Regions from separate parts of the Homo sapiens genome. Here region 2 is linked to region 1. Evidence: promoter capture Hi-C in 16 types of primary human blood cells and fetal thymus (Javierre and others, 2016). All regions are on one chromosome and are shown on one strand. Each heading gives the region's core, a stretch centred on a gene start or on the middle of the fragment in contact. The rest is flanking DNA. Distances are from core to core; before and after follow the strand shown.

What was found. The method cuts DNA at HindIII sites, captures the fragments that hold promoters and counts their contacts. A CHiCAGO score of 5 or more calls a contact.
Region 2: a contact is called between a fragment that was not itself captured here and the fragment with the promoter of HSPH1 in region 1, in 1 of 17 cell types (total CD8 T cells). The highest score is 5.0, in total CD8 T cells.

The regions. Positions count from the first base shown.
Region 1 is chr13:31,159,535-31,165,634 of GRCh38, reverse strand. It overlaps HSPH1 (heat shock protein family H (Hsp110) member 1), which reads left to right and starts at 3,731. Exons shown (of 18, transcript NM_006644.4): 1 at 3,731-4,159. The coding sequence starts at 4,053. LOC105370148 (a long non-coding RNA gene) reads right to left here and starts at 2,975. Exons shown (of 3, transcript XR_941825.3): 1 at 1,538-2,975; 2 at 393-481. RefSeq lists enhancers at 3,105-3,374, 3,605-3,724, 3,855-3,934, 3,546-4,091, 4,092-4,637. The HindIII fragment of the contact is 12,297 bases long and covers 1-4,678 here.
Region 2 is chr13:52,645,361-52,651,460 of GRCh38, reverse strand. It overlaps SUGT1-DT (SUGT1 divergent transcript), which reads left to right. Exons shown (of 1, transcript NR_170300.1): 1 at 1-156. Among named protein-coding and RNA genes, the nearest start is that of SUGT1-DT, 3.9 kb to the left of the region's middle. The HindIII fragment of the contact is 1,353 bases long and covers 1,588-2,940 here.

The DNA of each region.
Region 1 (6,100 bases), core at 2,482-4,981:
ACCAGCTTCTCCTTAACTGGACAAGAACTGGGTGTACTTTGGGGAAGGGTAATGTGCTTACTGGGTGGGCATTCAGAAACCTTCTCTACAGATGGTGAAGAATTCAATAGAGCCTTGAAGGATGAGGAACTGGCCTAGCCAGGAGCCTGAGGAAGAATTTTCTAGGCAGGGGAATAAAGGAACACCTTGATGTGGGGTAGGGGGCCAGTGTGCCTGAGCACGGTGTTCCAGTGGCAAAGTGGCTCACAGTGAGTTTGGGGGCAGACATGAACATTTTCCTACACATTGAGTTTTTGTCTGCCACATTTATTACAAAATATGATCCTTTTTAGGCTAAAAGAAACATCATTTTACATATCTTTTCCATGTCCTACCAGACAAAACATACTTACCTTATTTCTAGGTGTACCTTTTTATAAGTCTCTGCTCCCTGCGTGATTTCCCCATGCATTCCTATTTTTAGATGATCATTCTATTATAACTTAAAATAAGGACAAAATAGGTTTTAGCAGAACCAATTAAGGTTTAAAAGATACATTTTCAGGTTAATATATAAGAAGAAAACAAAAATCTTTTGGTAAGCAAATATTGAAAAAGGTTCAAACGGACAAGATTTCAGATAATTGAGTATTCATGATGCCCCAGCATTGCAGAGAAGTGACAAAACACATCTTGATTTAGAACAAGTTTTATACTACTTCTGTAACCCTCCAGACCCTGGCATTATGCTGGTTATAGAGAAGACTGCCATACTGGTTGATACCAGAAATTCAAAGTCATATGCACTTTCATGTATATTACTCTATCTGCATATCCCCTCCTTTGCCCATCTCTTCCTCCTTTCAAGGAAGCCTGGCATAGTTTTTTATATCTACTGCATATTATCTCTTTGAATGGCATTTTTGTTTGGGCTTTTCTTAATTTTGCATTTTTGTTTTATTGTTCTTTGGAAGTGGTCTGTTTCTGCTTCCAATTTTGAGGTCCTTCTTATTCTCTAAAACAAATATGGAATGAAACCTAATAATTGGATTCATAATTACATAACAAGGATTTGTAGGGATTGTCATTATTTGGTCCAAGTCTCATTTTAAAATTTCTGACATTACAACAGTAAGTGTGATAAATTCTACATGTAATAAAATATATAAACATATAAAGTAATAAAATATAATAAAGTGTTAAAAGTGAATTTTTTTAATAGTCTTGCTATATTGCCTGGGCAGGACTTCAACTCCTGGGCTGAAGCAACCCACATGCCTCAGCCTCCCATGTAGCTGGTACTAGAGGCATGAGCCACTGCACCTAGCTAGGAATTATTTTTTTATTTTTAGAGACAGACTCTTGTTCTGTTGCCCAGGCTGCAGTGCAGTGGAGTGATCATAGTTCACTGCAGCCTCAAACTCCTGGGCTCAGGTGATCCTCCTGCCTTGGCCTCCCAAAGTGCTGGGATTACAGATGTGAGCCGCCATGCCTGGCCCAGCTAAGAATTTCAATTAGATAATAAATATGGTAGATTTTACAACCTCTTATCACTTACCTGTTGTGCTGAATAATTAAGGCAAATCGATTAAATAAAAGGGGGCTACACCATGACTACACAACACATCCACAGCAGTACAAGATTAAAGTTTGTACTGACTTTCACTGAATGATATTACTTCTATTACTACAATTTATCAAATACCACCATACCATGTTTTATTTATATCTAATCCTTCCAAAATCCTAGCAAAAATAGGTATTACTTCCATTTTACAGTCGAGGAAACAGAGGGCAAAGAGGAATTTGACAAAGATGACAGACTTTATATGTTTATGTTTATATATGTTTAGTGCTTTACATATAGTTTCCATCATTACATAAACACCATGAGATGGAATACAGAAAGGCTTAGTAATTATCGCAACATCACACAGCTCACAAATAAGAATAGCTAGGATTCAAGCCCATGATGTCTGACTCCAGGAGGCCTGGTGCCCTTACAAGCTGTACTTTATATAAAACATCTTAGTAGAGTGCCAAGGATTTGAACCTGACCCAAATCTGTCTGGCTCCAAAGACTGAGAACTGTTCATGTCTCCTCTTCGTACGGCAGTTAAAATGTGGGAAGCAGACCAAATAATCTCAAAGGTTCTTTCTGTTCAAAATTGCTATGTCTCCATGGATTTTATTATAAGGTTTTGATATGTAAGAAAAAGTTGGTGGGCGGGGGGTGGGGACAGAAACCAAGTTTTTGGGATGCATAACAAAAATAACTTATAGTTACAGCTAACTATATGTCCAAATGTAAGAACACAACAACCCCGTGATAACTATTATTGCTCCCATTTTAAAGGTGAGTTAACTGAAGCATGTTAAGTAAGCCACCTAAGTGGCAGGAAAACTAGCAAAAGCACATACAATTTACATGTAATGTAAACCTGGGCCTTTCGTCTTGCCTCTGACTTAACCAACTTGTTTTGATAGACAAGGAGGAATTCCCATACTCTTTATGAGTTAGATTTTTCTAACTTTAGGTTACAACTCCTTATTCAATTACACGCTTATCCAATAACATATTTGAACTGTGCTTATACTTCCACATGCCTGACATAAGGTAAACTCAGGGATCAGAAGCAAACTTAAAAAGACACAAAAGGGTATAAAAGACCTGATAAGTTATCAGCAACACAGTTCCACCTTTTCTTACACTGTCTCTTTACTGAACAAAAGTTAACGGGGACATCGCTTCTGAGGGAAAGAAACAAAAGCTGCTTCAGATCAAACAAAAAGCAAAACTTACACACAGTACCAATTTATGGCTAGGAGTGGCAGGGTAGAACAGCGTCGGCTTAAATCAGACCTTTTAAAAATAAGCAGAAAGTGATACCGTGGACAGCCTGCCAAATGACGTCACAACTAAAAATCGATTTCTTAAAAAAAAAAACACCTGACATTTTACTCCACAAGAGATCATCCTGCTGCCTGATGAATACAAGAACACTTAACACAACCCCTTTGCTTTTATTATAAGCGGTTTGAACTGGTGTTCCTTCTCCTAAGTCGTAACGCACCAGTTGTCGGGGTAATCCAGACAATAATAGAAGTGAATACAAAACAAACGAACAAAATGACGCTTATTGCCAGGGAACCCGCGCAAAAGCGCCAGACAAAACCCTACCCAGCCTCTCTCGCGAGTCCCAGAAGACAAAGCCGGGTCCCAGCAAGCACTGCGGCCAGGACTACACATCCCAGCATGCAAGGCGCACACTTCTCCCAGCGGGACTACGATTCCCAACATGCTCTCCGGACAGCTGGCCGGCCTCCCCACCATCCCGGTGTCTGGGGTCTCTGCAAAAATGGGGTCTGTCTCCGCCCGCCCAGCCTCCCTTTAGCGTTAAGGATCGGACACCACCTCCCGGTAGTAAATTGTGACTATTCCGAGTTTTGGAGTCATTCTTCGTTGCCTGTTTTATTAGGGCAGCAAAACGCCTGTGGCTAGGGCGGGAGTGGGCGGAGGCAGGTTTGAGCCAATGGCACGGGAGCGGCCCTGTCGCTGCCATGGCAACGGCGGCCGTTCTCCGGGGACCGGCTGCCCATTGGGTAGAATCTTTCCAGAAGGCTCGAGAAGAAGGAAGCGGAAGTGGCACGTGGAGGGGCCGGTGGAGGCGCCGGTGAGTAAATGCCGCAGATTCTGGAAAGTTCTGATCAGTGCGATACATAAGGCTGAGGAAGTGGGACCTCCCCTTTTGGGTCGGTAGTTCAGCGCCGGCGCCGGTGTGCGAGCCGCGGCAGAGTGAGGCAGGCAACCCGAGGTGCGGAGCGACCTGCGGAGGCTGAGCCCCGCTTTCTCCCAGGGTTTCTTATCAGCCAGCCGCCGCTGTCCCCGGGGGAGTAGGAGGCTCCTGACAGGCCGCGGCTGTCTGTGTGTCCTTCTGAGTGTCAGAGGAACGGCCAGACCCCGCGGGCCGGAGCAGAACGCGGCCAGGGCAGAAAGCGGCGGCAGGAGAAGCAGGCAGGGGGCCGGAGGACGCAGACCGAGACCCGAGGCGGAGGCGGACCGCGAGCCGGCCATGTCGGTGGTGGGGTTGGACGTGGGCTCGCAGAGCTGCTACATCGCGGTAGCCCGGGCCGGGGGCATCGAGACCATCGCCAATGAGTTCAGCGACCGGTGCACCCCGTAAGTGGGAGTCTGCGAGGGTGGATGGGAGGAGGTTCTGGGCCCTTAGTGTGGGGACCCAAGATCGCGGGCTGGCTGTACGGATCACCGCGGCAAACGGAGGCGTTTGGGCAGCGGCGCACCCCTCCGTGGAACTAGGGACCAGCGACCCGGCCAGAGGAGGGATGGGGGGCTTGCCATCACAAATTGGAGAAGGGATTGTCTCAGGGATTCACGGGGGTGAGAGGAGTCCCAGAGTCGAGACTCTAAGGGTCGTCACCTTGTGCGGGCTTCCTATTGGGGGTTTTCAAAACCTACTGGGGGTCGGGCTGCGGCAAAGCCCGCAACTTCGCTCCCTTTTCTTGGCAGGCTGCAGCCTGCGCCTTCCGCGGCCGCCCCCGTATCCCCACCCGGCCTCTCTGAGCTGGCTGAGCCGCCTCCAGCTTGTCCTCCTCCCTTCGCGCATATCTTTGCGCACCGCGGAGCGGGGCTGCCGGCCTTTTTCTTCCGCATTGTGAATCTCGAAATGAACTGGAAGCTTCCAGAGCTTGTGTCGCTGCTTGTCCAGTGAGCAGGCGGATTGTTGTTAGCGACCACGGAAGCAGTCCTATGAAAGATTAGCCCACCTCTTTTTACCCAGTCTCTTCGTTGCTAACATTGTTGGCCTTAATGCCCGGGATCATTGTCGAAAGATGTAAACGTCTTTTTTTTTGCTCTTTGCCATTCATGAGGAATTGTAAACCGTATTTTTAAAATTAATTTTGCACAGTTTATTTAAAAGAGAATAAAAATTGCATACTTTTGTGCTAGGACGCCAAAAGAGGATGGATGTCGTCACTGAACTAAATATTCTATAGGAGCATAGGGTGGGCAAAGGGCAACATTTTAAAAAGCAAGTTTCGTGAAGGGATATTTTCGGACGAGAATATATACAAACATATCTGCATGTGCATTGATGAAAACAAATGATTTCATCTCAAGGAAAATACTGTACCTATTAATTTTTTTCAAATGTCCCAAGCTCAGGATGAAAAGTGCAAAATGAAAACATTGAACCTAAAGGTAGAATGAATGACTGGGGTAATACAATTATTTGGGTGCTGAGAACGTTTATGAAAGTTGAGTGGAAAATCTGAGGCAAAATATTTGGCAATGTTAGTAACGTTAGGAAGACTGTTCTGAGCAACCTGTACGTCTACCCCTGCAGATCTAAGTTTGTGTTTTGGTTAAGGTTTTTTTAATTGGAGTTTAGTAAGAAAGAAAACAGTATTTCAGGCTTTCATGCCTAGATACAGTTTATACTTTGTTCTGGTTGATCCAATAAAACAAAGAAAAGCTTTTCAGAGAAGAGAGTGGGAAAAAAAATTGTGTTATACAGGGACTACTGTGTGAAATCAAAGACAACAGGTATGGCCCTGAAAAATGTGAACTGAGGGCAGTATTGGAGTTCCCCTTAATATGTTTGTTAAACTATAATTGTGGTGGATTCTATTGTATCAGCTACTAATTGTTATTTAGTACAATTAATTTGATTCTCCCCTAGGAAAATGAGTAGATCCATTCTGCAAGTGTATGGTTATTCAGAGCTTACAGTGATGCTCTGATTTTGACGGTTTCTTGTCTAGCTTCTGCTTGGACACTTCTCTGGCTTTTAGGATGCTATTTTATTTAACACTTGCTCAGATAATATAGTTTGAGGATGTTTCTATTATAGCAAATTTAAACTTAAGGGTGGTACTTAATGCCCTCAGTATTTTCCCGTTTTGCTCATCTCGTTTACCATTACTCATACCTAAGCAGGTAGGAGTAACTCACCCAAAATTAGATTATATTTGAATTAGTAATCCAGAATTAGATAACTCCTCTAATCCAAAACCTAATTCACTTACCTTCTTCTCACAAGACTTTTTAAGCTAGTCTCTGCTCTGTTATTGTGCGGTTCCATTTCCATGGTGGCTGAGA
Region 2 (6,100 bases), core at 1,015-3,514, about 21 Mb before region 1:
GTAGATTCTTTCGGAATTTCTGTGATCAAAATCTTGCAATCCACGAATAAAGATGGTTTAACTTCTCTGTAACCTTTATACCTTTTATTTTTATTTATTTTTGCCTTTTGTTGCTGGCTAGTGTTTCCACTATTGAATAAAAACAGTGATAATGGACTTCCTTGTCTTGGTCATAACATCAGGAGGAAAGCATTGAATATCAACTGCTTTTTCTGCCTTTATTGAAATGTTCATTTGTATTTTTTAATGTTACTGTGAATTACCTTGGTTAGTTTTCAAATGTTATCTAAATGGCCAATTGTCCTTCTGGACCCCACTGACTCCAGTTGGGATGGCACTGTAAGAAGAGAGGCAGAGTCAGTGAAGGAGACAAGGTTTATTCAGGATTTACATACAAGGGTGGTCCGGTGGTGGAGGGCTGACCTGGAGAACTGCTACCATTTGTAAAAAGCACGTAGTCTATATAGCATTTTCACTTAGCACTCTCCTTCTAGCAACCTCCATTTAACCCCAAAGGGCCTTGATCTGTACAGCGTAAGATACGGGCCAGGGATGTGGATGTCCTTCATAGATAAGGAGTGAATCTCTGGGTTGGCTGCTCCTGGATTCCTTAGCCCAGGACTCCAAACGTAAGTTCTTCTTAGACCATAGGGTTAGTCTCAGGTATGCTCCGGTTATGGCTCAGCCATACACTAATGTGTGTACACCAGCCTCTGCCATGCACCAATACACATATATGTATGGCCTCTGAAAGGGTGAATTCCAAGACCGCCCTATGGGCCCAACATGAAAAGAAGTTCTATATATTATGGACATTGAAATCAATGAGATACCAAAACTACCACCAGAATGGCTTAAATTAAAAGGACTTCCAATACCAAGCACTGACAAGGATATGTAGCAACTGTATCTTTCATATATTGTTGGTGAGAGTTTAATCATTTTGGAAAACTGTGGTACCGTATGTCTGTTCTTGCATTGCTATAAATGAGACTAGGTAATTTATAAAGAAAAAATGTTTAATTCACTCATGGTTTTGCAGACTGTACGAGAAGCATAGCAGTTTCTACTTTTGCAGAGGCCTCAGGAAGCTTCCAATCACCGCACAAGGCAAAGGTAGAGCAGCCATCTTACATGGCAGGAGCAAGTAGGGTGGGGGTAGGTGCTACACATTTTTAAACAACCAGATCTCACAAGAATTCACTGTTGCAAGGACAGTACCAAGAGAGGTGGTACTTAACCATTCATGAGAAACCCACCCCTATGATCCAGTTACCTCCCACCAGGCCCCACCTCCGACATTGGGGATTGCAATTTGACATGTGATTTGGGTGGGGACACATATCCAAACTATATCAGACACTATCTACTAAAGCTAGTTATACACAGACCATAACCCAATAATTCTACCACTGGGCATATACCCAAGAGTATTTATTATTTATGATCATGTAGAAGAATATTCATTGCAGCATTACCCAAGGTAGCAAAAACTGGAAATAATCTAAATGTCCTTAAATAGGAGAAAAAAATATTACATAGCAATAGGAATGAACGACTACTACACACAACGATATGGATGAAGCTTATATACATAAGTTGTGGTAAAAAAAAAAAAAAGCCAGACGGAGTACATCATGATTGATTCCACTTAGATGAGAGGTATCATAAGGGAACCTCCTGGTTGTCAGGGAGGGTGGGGAACAGGAGCATGAAGAAATCTCGGATGCGGGAAATGTTACATATCTTGATCTGGCTGGTAATCACAGCAGTGTATTCAAACATAAAATTTTATCAAGTTATGCACAAGATTTGTGCAGGCTGGGTGCAGTGGCTCACGCCTGTAATCCCAACACTTTGGGAAGCCAAGGCAGAAAAATCACTTGAGCCCAGGAGTTCAAGACCAGCCTGGGCAAGATGGTGAGACCTCGTCTCTACAAAAAATAAATAAATAAAAAACATTAGCCAAGCATGGTGGCGCGTGCCTCAGCTACTTGGGAGGCTGAGGCAGGAGGATCGCTTGAGCCCAGGAGGTTGAGACTCTTATCGTGTTACTGCACTCCAGCCTACGTAACAGTGTGAGTCTCAACAACAACAACAAATTGTTCACTTTGATTTTGCAGATTCGTTTGAGGAGAAATGATATATTTCCCTTGTATTGCCTCTTCCAGTCCATGAACATAATTGCTTGTTTCATTCAGTTATTCGTATGTCTTTTAGTAAAGTTTTTATAATTTTCTCCATAAATTCTTGGCATCAGTTTATTGAAATCTTGGGAGGAAGGACAGACAAATGCTTAAGAAGTTATTAATAAATGTTTTCAGCCGGGCACAGTGGCTCACGCCTGTAATCCCAGCGCTTTGGGAGGCCGAGGCGGGCAGATCACCTGAGGTCAGGAGTTCGAGACCAGCCTGGCCAACTTGGTGAAACCTCATCTCTACTAAAAAATACAAAAATTAGCCGGGCATGGTGGCAGGCACCTTAATCCCAGCTACTTGGGAGGCAGAGGCAGGAGAATCGTTTGAATCCGGGAAGCAGAGGTTGCAGTGAGCCGAGATTGAGCCATTGCACTCAAGCCTGGAGGACAAGAGCGAGACTTATTGCAAAAAAAAAAAAAAAGTTAAAAAAAAAAGTTTTCATGTGCAAATGACACAACTAAATATACCAATGTACTTAGCTTTGGTAATTTAAAGAAGGGGAGGAGTAACCATGCTGGATTAAGTGGGCATTTATTGAAGGATAATTGATCTTCAAATTGAAGAGTGAAAATAGTCACTTATACTGTGTTACCTAACATTTTCCTAGGAAAGGGATCCTTTTCATTTAAAAGAGAAAACCATCCCAGTCTAACATTGAAGCCATCCTTAAGTGTATTACACTTGATAATTTCAAACTGAATCTAACAAAATCTCTTATTTGTGTCTTTTTCACAATAAAGCTTTCCCAAAGAGAAGTTTAAAAAAAAGAGAGAAAATTTTTAAAAGATTTGTACACTTTACCAAGTTTATACTTCAACAGAAAAAAGATTTAAAACAAAATCAGTAACAATCAAAATTTTAAATGCAAAGAGTCATGACATGTATAGTAACATCAAAATATTAAATACTGAAAAATAAATCTGACAAAAGATATGCAAGATGTGCACCGAAAACTAAAAAATATTGCAGCCAGGCGTGGTGGCTCACGTCTGTAATCCTGGCACTTTGGGAGGCCCAGGCGGGTGGATCACCTGAGGTCCAGGCTGGCCAATATGGCGAAACCCCATCTCTATTAAAAACACAAAACAAATTAGCTGGACGTGGTGGCGGGTGCTTGTAATCCCAGCTACTTGGGAGGCTGAGGCAGGAGAATTGCTTGAACCCGGGAGGCGGAGGTTGCAGTTAGCCGAGATTGCGCCATTGCACTCCAGCCTGGGTAATAGAGCAAGACTCTGTCTCAAAAAAAAAAAAAAACCCAACAATATTGCCGAGAGAAATTAAAGAAAACTAACAAATGGAGAGCTACTCCAAATTCATGAGTCAAGAAGACTCAATATTGTTGAGATCTCAGTTCTTCCAAGATTGACCTATAGACTCAACATGATCCCAATCAAAATCCCTAGTCAGGCATGGTGGCTCATGTCTAATCTCAGTTCTTGTTGGGGCTGAGGCAGGAGAATCGCTTAGAGGCAAGGAGTTGGAGACCAGCCTAGACAACAGAGACCCCATCTCTGAAATAAAGTACATTTAAAAATCCCAGAGCTGGCTGGGCGCGGTGGCTCACGCCTGTAATCCCAGCACTTTGGGAGGCCGAGGCAGGCGGATCACAAGGTCAGGAGATCGAGACCATCCTGGCTAACACAATCAAACCCTGTGTCTACTAAAAATACAAGAAAATTAGCCAGGCGTCATGGCAGGCACCTGTGGTCCCTGCTACTTGGGAGGCTGAGGCAGGAGAATGGCGTGAACCCGGGAGGAGGAGCTTGCAGTGAGCCGAGACTGCACCAATGCACTCCAGCCTGGGCGACAGAGCAAGACTCCGTCTCAAAAAAAAAAAAAAAAAAAAAAAAAAAAAAAAAAAAAAAAAAAATCCCAGAGCTTTTCCCTTTTAGAAGTTGACAAACTGATTCTAAAATTCAAATGGGGGAAAAATTCAAATGAAAATGCAAAGGACTTACAATAGCCAAATCAGCTTTGAAAAATAACAAAGTTGGAGAGATAACATTACTTCATCTCAAGACCTGTCAACCTTGTGGTATTGGCACAAAAATAGACAGATTAATGGAACAGAGAATCCATAAATAGACCCATACCATATGTAGACAGCTGATTTTTAACAAAGGTCCAAAGGTAATTCAGTGGAGAAAAAACAGTTGAAAAGGAGAGACTTTAAAACAGACTGGATATACATGTGCCAAAAAGTGAGTTTCAGTGTGTATCTTTGCACCATGTACAACAATTCACTCAAAATGGATTATGGGGCTACAACTCCTATAAAACTTCTAGAGGAAAGAAAATCTTTGTGATCTTGGGTTAGACAAAGATTTCTTAGCACACCAAAAGCATGATCCATAAAAGAAGAAATTTGTAAATTAGACTTCACCAAAATTTAAAAGATTCTACACTATGAAAATATTTGCAATCACATCTCTGATGAAGAGCTTGCATCCAGAATATATGAAGATGTCTCAAAACTCAGAAACTGTAAGTCAATAGGGAAATAGAAATTAAAACCACAACCATATGCCACTACACACCCATTTAAACGGCTAAAAGGAGAAAGACTGACCATGTTGGCAAGGATGTAGAGCAACTGGAAGACTCATACACCACTGGTAGGAATGTAAAAAGGCACAACCATAAAATGACTTAGACCACTGCTACACAATTAGCACCCAAGAGATATGAAATAACATGTTCATGCAATGTTTGTACAAAATGTCTGTGTCTGTTTATAGCAGTTTTAATGGTTAACAGTTGAAAACTGGAAACAACCCAAATGTACATCAATAGGTGAATGGATAAACAGTAGTACAGCTGGCCAGGTGCAGTGACTCATGACTGTAATCCCACACTTTGGGAGGCGGAGGCGGGTGGATCACCTGAGATCAGGAGTTTGAGACTAGCCTGGCCAACCCTGTCTCGTCTAAAAATACAAAAAAATGTGGCACGCACCTATATTCCCAGCTACTCAGGAGGCTGAGGCAGGAGAACCATTTGAATGCAGGAGGTGGAGGTTGCAGTGAGCCAGGATCACACCACTGCACTCCAGCCTGAGCGACAGAGCGAGACTCCATCTCAAAACAAACAAAAAACAACAGCAGTATAGCCAGTATAGCCATACAATGGAATACTGCTCAGCAATAAAAGGAATGAAGTATTGCTACACACTATAACATGGATGAATCTCAAAATTATGCTAAGTGAAAAAAATCAGACAAAAATAGTACATTTTGTATGATTCCATTTATATAAAATCCTGAAAAATTTTAAAACTCATCTGTATGACAATCAGTGGTTTACTGGGTGGGGGTGGGGGCTGGAGAGCAGGGTGGAATTTCAAGAATAAAAGGGGCATGAGGAAACATTGGGGTAATAGGTATGTTCACTATCTTGATTATGGTGATGATTTTACGAGTGTATACATATGTAACACTTCAAACTGTACACTTTAAATAATGTGCATGGTTTGCTTTATGTCAACTATAGCCCTATAAAGCTATTTTATTTTATTTTATTTTTTGAGATGGAGTCTTGCTCTGTTGCCCAGGCTGGAGTACAATGGCGTGATCTCGGCTCACTGTAAGCTCTGCCTCCCGGGTTCACACCATTCTCCTGCCTCAGCCTCCTGAGTAGCTGGGACTATAGGCACCCGCCACCACACCCAGCTAATTTTTTGTATTTTTAGTAGAGATGGGGTTTCACCTTGTTAACCAGGATGGTCTCGATCTCCTGACCTCATGATCCGCCCGCCTTGGCCTCCCAAAGTGCTGGGATTACAGACGTGAGCCACCGCGCCCGGCCTAAAGCTATTTTTTTAAAACACATTTAGAGCTATAGATAAGAATTGATAGTCATCAGCATATGGATGGTGGTAAGCAACATAAGAACATGAGCACAAG